Linked DNA regions of Homo sapiens: region 1 is linked to region 2. Evidence: promoter capture Hi-C in human tissues and cell types (Jung and others, 2019). All regions are on one chromosome and are shown on one strand. The core of a region is centred on a gene start or on the middle of the fragment in contact, and the rest is flanking DNA. Distances in the headings are between cores, read along the strand shown. Region 1 holds the start of NF2 (NF2, moesin-ezrin-radixin like (MERLIN) tumor suppressor). Region 2 holds the start of CABP7 (calcium binding protein 7).

Evidence for each region. Contacts are between HindIII fragments. The study calls those that stand out against the background at their distance.
Region 1: a contact is called between the fragment with the promoter of NF2 here and the fragment with the promoter of CABP7 in region 2, in 5 of the 25 tissues and cell types used here (adrenal gland, dorsolateral prefrontal cortex, liver and 2 more).

Annotation. Positions count from the first base shown.
Region 1 is chr22:29,601,136-29,605,788 of GRCh38, forward strand. It overlaps NF2 (NF2, moesin-ezrin-radixin like (MERLIN) tumor suppressor), which reads left to right and starts at 2,498. Exons shown (of 16, transcript NM_000268.4): 1 at 2,498-2,977. The coding sequence starts at 2,864. RefSeq lists an enhancer at 1,884-2,013 and a silencer at 2,264-2,843. The HindIII fragment of the contact is 17,440 bases long and covers 1-4,653 here.
Region 2 is chr22:29,718,194-29,722,226 of GRCh38, forward strand. CABP7 (calcium binding protein 7) reads left to right here and starts at 1,810. Exons shown (of 5, transcript NM_182527.3): 1 at 1,810-2,340. The coding sequence starts at 2,232. It overlaps CABP7-DT (CABP7 divergent transcript), which reads right to left and starts at 1,710. Exons shown (of 3, transcript NR_186695.1): 1 at 1,355-1,710. RefSeq lists an enhancer at 3,119-3,909. The HindIII fragment of the contact is 29,567 bases long and covers 1-4,033 here.

The sequences.
Region 1 (4,653 bases), core at 1,248-3,747, 120 kb before region 2:
TGCTAGCTGATCCACCTCCTTTTGCTACTCCTCACTGGGTTCCCAGTGTCACGCATTTTCTTTTTCCTTTTTTTTTGAGACGGAGTCTCGCACTCTCGCCCAGGCTGGAGTGCAGTGGCGCCATCTCGGCTCACTGCAAGCTCCGCCTCCCGGGTTCACGTCATTCTCCTGCCTCCGCCTCCCGAGTAGCTGGGACTACAGGCGCCCGCCACCACGCCCGGCTAATTTTTTGTATTTTTAGTAGAGACAGGGTTTCACCGTGTTAGCCAGGATGGTCTCGATCTCCTGACCTTGTGATCTGCCTGCCTCCCAAAGTGCTGGGATTACAGGCGTGAGCCACTGGGCCCGGCCCGGTGTCACGTATTTTTATCAGCAGCCATTTGTTGTCCCTGTGGGGAGCCCAGAAAACCCAGCCCGGTTCTCCCACCTGCGGGGAAGAAATGAAGCAATGATAATGAAGACACTCCCATGCCAAGCCCATACTGCCCTGAGCAATCAGTTTTGGTGGGGAGAATTTGCTAGCAGAAGGCAGGACATAAAGTCCCCACAGCAGCCTCACTGGGTGTGGCAGCAAATCATTCCTGAGGCCTGGCCGGTGCTACCAGGCACAGCAGGGGTCCGTGCAGAAGAACTAGATTTATTCCATTAATATACCGTTACAGCAACAATGTCTGCTGAGTACTCCGGAACTGTAATTCACATTTCCTGAGGCTGTAGTAGGGAGAATTTGGAAGCAGGGCAGCACAGTGCTAACCAGCAGGCTCTGGGTGGGACAGACCTGGGTTTGAGTCCTAGCTTTGCCTTTCACTATCTGCATTATAGTCAGCGAGTGGCTCTATCATATCTCTCAGTATCTTCACCTGTGGAGTTGGGGGGGTGATGCTAATGTTAGCTAACATTTATGGGGTGATTATTGTTGTTAAAACTCAGTACACCGGGCGCGGTGGCTCACGCCTGTAATCCCAGCACTTTGGGAGGCCAAGGTGGGCAGATCACCTGAGGTCAGAAGTTTGAGACCAGCCTGGCTAACATGGTGAAACCCCGTCCCTACTAAAAATACAAAAATTAGCCGGGCGTGGTGGCGGGTGCCTGTAATCCCAACTACTGGGGAGGCTGAGGCAGGAGAATTGCTTGAACCCGGGAGGCGGAGGTTGCAGAGAGCCGAGACCGCCCCATTGTACTCCAGCCTGGGCAACAAGAGCGAAACTCTGTCTCAAAACAAAAAACAAACGAAAAAACACAGTAAATTGTCCCTATTTGACTACTAAGAGCTATTTTAAAATAGAATTTATTATCTAAGTACAGAAAGGTGTAATTATCCCCCCTACACCCGTTAGAACCCTTGATGACACTAAATAAATAATACATGAATACGGTTCAAAAATGGGCATCATAGAGTATAAAATAAAGAATGCTTTCATTTTCAACCCAAATTCAGCAATTTCATAGGATGCCAGGCTCAGCTCTAAAGCCTTATATGTATTCAGTGCGCTGAAATTCAACAACCTCACGAGGTAGGTATAACCAATAATAATTCTAGGCGGGGCGTGGTGGCTCACGCCTGTAATCCTAGCACTTCGGGAGGCCGAGGCGGGCGGATCACCTGAGGTTCGAGACCAGCCTGACGAACATGGAGAAACCCCGTCTCTAATAAAAATACAAAATTAGCCGGGCGTGGTGACGCATACCTGTAATCCCAGCTACTCGGGAGGCTGACGCCGGAAAATCGCTTGAACCCGGGAGGCGGAGGTTGCAGTGAGCCGAGATCGCGCCACTGCACTCCAGCCTGGGCAACAAGAGCGAAACTCCGTCCCAATAATAATAATAATTAATAATAATAATAATAACAATAATAATAATAATTCTAAAGGGAAGCAGAGGGATCTGGCGGGAAAGTGCCAGCAAACCTAACAGGCCTCCACAAGTGTCTTTAAAGTTTCATAGGGGTCGGTATATGTGATTAACTGCCAAAGAAGAATATTCGCCGTGTGTCCGAAACGCAGTCCCCTGGGGCGCCACACTCGGAGCCTACTTGAACCGAAGAGTCCCTCCCTGGGCCAACGAAGGACCCAATTCCCCTCGCCCCGGATCCAGCCTCTAAGTGGTTTCCCGGGTAAGGTCAGCAGAGGTCCGCCGCCTCAACCAGTCTTGTTAGAGTAGGCACAAAAGCATTCAGAGTGACTGCCACTGTAGCCACTCAACGCCGAGCCTAGGCCTGCTTTTTTTGCAGTTAGAGTGAAACTTTCCATTGGTGGAGTCACCCCAAAGGAGGCGGGACGGAGCGGGAAAGTCCTGCCTACCTTGGCCTTCCCAGCCAATCGCAGCATCTATGCGTCAGCCTCCGGTTCGGTTGCGCTGCGCGTAGTGGTCTGGGCGACCTGAGGGCGGGGCCGGGAGCAGGCCCCGGGCTGTGGGGAGGGTGCGCTTCCCGCGGGCGCGCGGAGTGAGGACGGTGACAGCCACGCGCGCGCGTACGCGCCCGATGCAGCGCGGCCCCGTGACCCTAGTCGGCCGCTGAGAGGCGCGCGGAGTCTGGGCCGCTGCCGTCTAGGGGTCCCGTCCCGAGGCGTCCCCGGCATCTCCGGCCCGAATCCCGGAGTGCCGGGTCGCGCCTGCACCGAAGGTCCCGGCTCCTGTGCCCTCCCTGCAGCCGTCAGGGCCCGTCCCCCAACTCCCCTTTCCGCTCAGGCAGGGTCCTCGCGGCCCATGCTGGCCGCTGGGGACCCGCGCAGCCCAGACCGTTCCCGGGCCGGGCAGCCGGCCACCATGGTGGCCCTGAGGCCTGTGCAGCAACTCCAGGGGGGCTAAAGGGCTCAGAGTGCAGGCCGTGGGGCGCGAGGGTCCCGGGCCTGAGCCCCGCGCCATGGCCGGGGCCATCGCTTCCCGCATGAGCTTCAGCTCTCTCAAGAGGAAGCAACCCAAGACGTTCACCGTGAGGATCGTCACCATGGACGCCGAGATGGAGTTCAATTGCGAGGTAACCGGCCGGCAGCCCCGACTGCTGCGGTGACAGTCGAGGTGGAAGCTCGAGAGGTTCTCTTTATATCATCTTATGGGTGTAGCTAGAGACGGGCAGAACCGGAAGGGCCAACTAGGCCCAAAACCTCATGTTAAAGATGATTGCTGCTTTTTTTCATAGGACTTTTGGGTTTTGGCATTTCCTGAAGGTTATTTTCATTCATTGTTATTGGAAGAAGCTGGATGCTCCTGTGATAGAAAATTCAGGATTTCAGTGTCAGGCTTAAGTTAGGCTTACGCTTAAAAGCTTGAAAGTTTATTCTTTCATTAGGTAATATTGTTATGTACCCAGGTATTAGAAGTTGCGTCTTGTTTATTGGAAAGCCAATACTTGTTTCCCTTTTCTAAAGCTTGCATATTCTGGGAAAAAAAACCCTTTGAAGAACGATATAACATCTCATACTTACTTTCCACATAGTTTCCAACATGATGATAACAGCTATCAATTGTTCAGTATTTTCAAAGTGCTAGACATTTGCACATTTAATCCTCAGAACAAACCCATTTATCTAGTAAATGGCAAGGTGGGGTTTTGAACCAAGCTCACAGCCCGTACAGTACTGCTTCTCAAGTAATTTAAGTTCTTGCTGCTAAAAGTGTGGTTTGTGGACCAGCAGCATTGGCAGCAGTAAGCAAGGGTTGGCATGCTTTTTCTGTACAGGACCACATAGTAAATATTTTCAACTTTGTAGACTAGAGAATCTCTGTTGGAGTTATTCAACTCTTCAACTCTACCATTGTAACACAAAAGCAGCCTTAGATAAGATCAGCTTCCAGCATGACAGCTTAAGGAACCCATTCCTCTGTAAAACTGGTGAAAATTCTTTTTTGTTTTGTTTCGTTTTGAGACAGAATCTCACTCTGTCACCGAGGCTGGCATGCAGTAGTGTGATCATGGCTTACTGCAACCCTGACCAACCTCCCTGGCTCAATCAGTCCTCCTGCCTCAGCCTCTCGAGTAGCTGGGACCACAGGCGTGTGCCACCACACCTGGCTAATTTTTTTTTTTTTTTTTTTTTTGAGACGGAGTCTCGCTCTGTCACCCAGAGTGCACCGGGCTAGAGTGCAATGGCGCGATCTTGTCTCACTGCCACCTCCACTTCCAGGTTCAAGTGATTCTCCTGCTTCAGCCTTCCAGGTAGCTGGGATTACAGGCGTGCGCCACCTCGTCTGGCTAATTTTTCTATTTTTAGTAGAGACAGGGTTTCACCATATTGGGCAGGCTGATCTCGAACTCCTGACCTCGTGACCAGCCGACCTGGGCCTCCCAAAGTGGTGGGAAAGTGGTGCGATTACAGATGTGAGCCACCCCGCCCAGCCTCACCTAGCTAATTTTTGTAAAGACAGGGTTTTGCCATGTTGCCCAGGCTGATCTTGAACTCCTGAGCTCAAGCAATCCACTCGCCTTGGCCTCCCAAAGTGATGGGATTACAGATGCAGCCACCACGCCTGGCCCAAAAATTCTTTTTTTAAAATCAACTATTTAAACCCTCCGGCAATGGTCCTGAGGGCAAACAACAAATGAAAAAACACCTATTCAAGAAAATCTACAAATTCGGTAAGAAAGATGAGAGGGTATGGTATTTGAACCAAGATCATTCCCTCCTTACTCACTCCTAGCTTAGTGAGGTGGAG
Region 2 (4,033 bases), core at 560-3,059:
CTATTCCTTGGGGGGGATGTTCATGCTAATAGGAAACTCCCAAGAGTTTCAGGGAGGTGATGCCCGGCACCTTTCCTACATTATGTCACTTCATCCTCACCGCTGCCTGGGATGTGGCACTGCCACCTTAACAGGCAGGGAAACTGAGGCTATGGCCGGTTAAGGGACCTGACTGTAGTTCCATGGTGAGGAGATGGTGGATGCAGAAGCCCCAGTCTGCCTGGCTCTTGGTGCTGGGTTCTTACTTCCTCAAGTCTCTGCTCCATCAAAAACACTGGGGAAGCTCAAGGCATTCAGCTCTAGCGGTGGAAGGTCAGAAGATGGGACAGGTGGGCAAGGAGAGCTTTGGAGTGGGGTGGGAGCTTTTCTGGGGCCTCTCTCACCTCCAGGCCCAGGTCCCAGTGGGCAACCAGCTAGCCCGGAGAGGTCTGGGGAGACAGACAGACAGCTGGTGTCCTTCCTGGCTCCTCCGCAGGTTATAGATGTTTCTAGGAGCTCCCTCCAGAGCAGGGCCCAGGAAGTGCTGGGCCCAGGCTGACCCAACCCCGCTTGGCTGGGGCTAGCATCTCTCACTGAGCCCCTTCTCCCCAGACCCTGAGACAAGGCTGCGATTAATCAGTAACAAAAACAGAAACAAGCAGAAAAGTGTAATCAGCTTGGGAAGGGCAGGGCAGGACCGGGCAGGGCTGTGCAATCAGCGTTCCTGCTGGGACCTTTAGCTGATTGGGCCAAAGGGGGCAGGGAGGTGGTCCCAGTAGGGGGATTCAGGGAAGCACCCAGAGATGGGGCCACAGCCAGGCCAGAAGGTCACCCCCTCCCATGCACATCTGTGCACCATATGCCCACACCACTCCCAGCCCCAGGGCCTGCACACCTCCCCCGACCTGCCAGCGTACAACCTTGGCACACACAGGTGGCCACACACTCCCGACATTTGTCCATCTGCATATGGAGTCACAGACACCTGCGCACGTGCCCAGTGGCACATACACACCCTCATGGATAGCAGACATATGCACACGCAGGCTGCTCCCTCAAACACCTGCCCCCACCCCAGCTCTGGGGTGCCGACGTGCCCTGGGGCCTGGGGAAGCCCTGCACATACATTAGGTCTGAGCTGCAGCCATGTGAACTGGCAGGCCCTCACACCAGACCCCACAGGCACCGGGCCATGTCTCTGTCCCGAACTGCCCTGGGGGCCATGAGACACTTTGGCTCCTCTTCTGCAAGCTGAAAGGTAGGGGCTTGGGAAGGGTCCGGGACTGGGGCCCCATTGTGGGGAGCAAGGTCAGCGGCAGGGTGTCAGTCACAGGCAGGGCAGGAAGCCTACCCCAGACGTGTACCCAGCTCTTACCTGCTGCTCCTGCCCTGTGACCTTGGTCAACGTCCTTCTCTCTCAGCCTCAGTTTCCCCACCTTGGATCCTCCTGGCACGGAAACGGTGACTCTTCTTGAGGACCCAGGTGCTTGGGGCCAGTCTCACCTCTCTGGGTCTACAGTTCTTAGTTCCGGGCTCTCCGCTCCTGGTGCGTGGATGGGGGAAGGTGAGCCAAGGGGCAGGAAGGAGGACCCCCGCAACCCACCCCCTCCCTGGTCCTGGTGGCTGCAGACTTAGGGTGAGGAGAGCCAGTGAACAGAGGGGAGCCCTAGTGGGAAAGGGGAATCGGGGCCGAAGGGGAGAAGGAGCCCCGGGCAGGTTTGGGGCGGCCGCTCAGGGGCCGGCGGCGGGAAGGGGCGGGCTGGGGGTGGGGAGCGCGGAGGGGGCGGGCGGGCGGCTGGCGGGGGAGGCGGGGAGCGCAGCCAGCGCGGCACAGAACGAGCGAGCGAGCGAGCGGAGAGGCGGCTACAGCCTGAGCGCCGGGCCGGTAGCGGCCGCGCCGGCGAGCGGACTAGCGGGCGGCGAGCAGCGCGGAGCGCGCGGGGCACCGAGGAGCGGGCGCGGCGGGCACCGCGCGAGGCAGCCGGAGCTCTCGGAAAGGCCAGAGCGGCGCCGCCCCCGCTGCCCCTGCGGGGCCCCGGCTGGGAGCCCGACGAGGGAGCGGGCGGCATGGCCCGGCGGCCCGGGGCGCGGGGGCGCTAGGCCCCCGGAGGGGCGTCCCCAGCCTCGCCGCTGCCGCCGCCGCCCTCCGCAGCCGCGCGCCCCGCCCGCTCCAGCCGCCCCCGGGGCCGCCACCGGCCCATGAGCCCCGGCCTCAAAGTTTGCGGCGGGCGGGCGGGCGCGGAGCCTCCAAGATGCCGTTCCACCCGGTGACGGCGGCGTTGATGTACCGGGGCATCTACACCGTGCCCAACCTGCTGTCGGAGCAGCGCCCGGTGGACATCCCGGAGGACGAGCTGGAGGGTGAGTGTCCGCCGGGATCCCCGCCCCGGCGGCCCTCCTACCTGTGCGCCCAGGTGAAGCGCGGGCCAGGGGCGCGGGGGCGGGGGGCGGGGGGCGGTCCGCAGGTGCCGGTTGCCAGGTGGGCGCCCCAGCTAGCAGCTGTGCCCCGCGGCAAGACCTGTCCGCACCCCGGGGCGCCGCGGTGGGGGTCGCTCAGGCGGAGAGCGGCCCAGCCCCTGCCCGCGTGGTCCCCAGCGCTGCGGAAACTTGCCGGGCCCCGCAGCGGGGTCACGGGGCCGCGCAGTCGGCGGTGACGGTGCGGCAACGCGGCGGACTGGGGCGGGGGTCCGCGCTGAGCCCCCAGCGCCGGCCCGGCCGGAGCACCCGCATCCTGATCCCCTCCGCGGCGCCCGCCCGCGGCTCTCTGCTCGCATTGACATTCCGCTCGTGTCGCTTTAAAAATTCAATCTGCTCGGGCAGCAGCAGAAGGGGAGAGGGCGACTGCCCTGCTCTTGCCCGCTGCGGGGCCGCCCCCGTCCCCACCTGCGGCCGTAGCCCCTTCCCTGCAGCCCTGCGGGGACCCCCAGCCCGGCGCGCCGGGAAGGCGGCCCGGGAGGCGGTGGCGACAACAAGTGGCCGGACTGGGCGGCTAAGTCGCGATAGCCAAGCCTGGAAGGGAAAGGCAGAGAGGCCAGGACCCAAACCCGCCCCCACCCCGTTCCCCCTGCCTCTCAGACTCGCAGGGGGATGGCAGGCCGCTGGCTGGGCGAGGTCAGAGCAGAGGGCAGGGGCAGGGGTCCGGGACAGTGTGTCCTGAGGAGCAGTGAGACCCCTGGGGCCCGCCCAGCTCCTTCCCTGCTGGGCTGGGGGAGGTGCTGAGGTTTCCCCTCCCCCCAGACCTCCTGGAGCCCCCATATGGAGTGGAGTGGGGGATCTGGGCTGATGGGGGTCACGGCCTCCTGGGATCTGCATGTCTGCTGTTGCAAGGGGCTGAGCTCACCCAGAGGATGGGCCTCTCGGGGTACCTTGGATCCAGGGGTCTCTGAGATCTGGAGGCTCATTAGGGCCTGGGAGGGTGCAGCCAAGACCAGCACAGTCAGGGAGGATGGTGGGAGCCCAGGGGAAGCCATGGAGGGAGGTCCTCCCTCAACCCAGGCCCAGGGTGAGGGCAGATCTTAGAGGAGTCAGAATGGGTCGGGGGAAGATCCAGAGAGAGAAGGCAGCCTCTGCCTCGCTCACTGCACCATAGGCATGAGCCACCAGGCTCCTCACCAACTGCCCCTGCAAACCCTCAGAAGCGGGGAGAGCTGTGGAGACAGGGTCTGGGGTCTGATGCGGACAGGACAGATGGATGATTGGGGCCCCCCGACATGACCTCACCATTCACCCCTAAAACCCAGGGCCAGAGCCTCCTCCAGAGCCCGGGGAAAGGAGGGGTACGATGGTGGGGGGCGAAAGGTCAGGAGATGGAGCATAGGCCTTCTCCTCCCCACCTTTGTCCCCTCCGGCCCTGGGCCACCTCAAACCTCCTGCAGATTTTTCCCTCCAGAGGCCCTCATCCATCCCCTCCTCCTGACCATCCAAGCAGGAGTCACCATGTCTCCCAGACCCCAGGCAGCTTCCGCTTCACTCCCTCCCCTTGCTCCCAGCACCCCCACCAGGACCCCACCACCCCAACTCCAGCCCTTTCTGGGTCCCTCCTCTCCTGATCCCC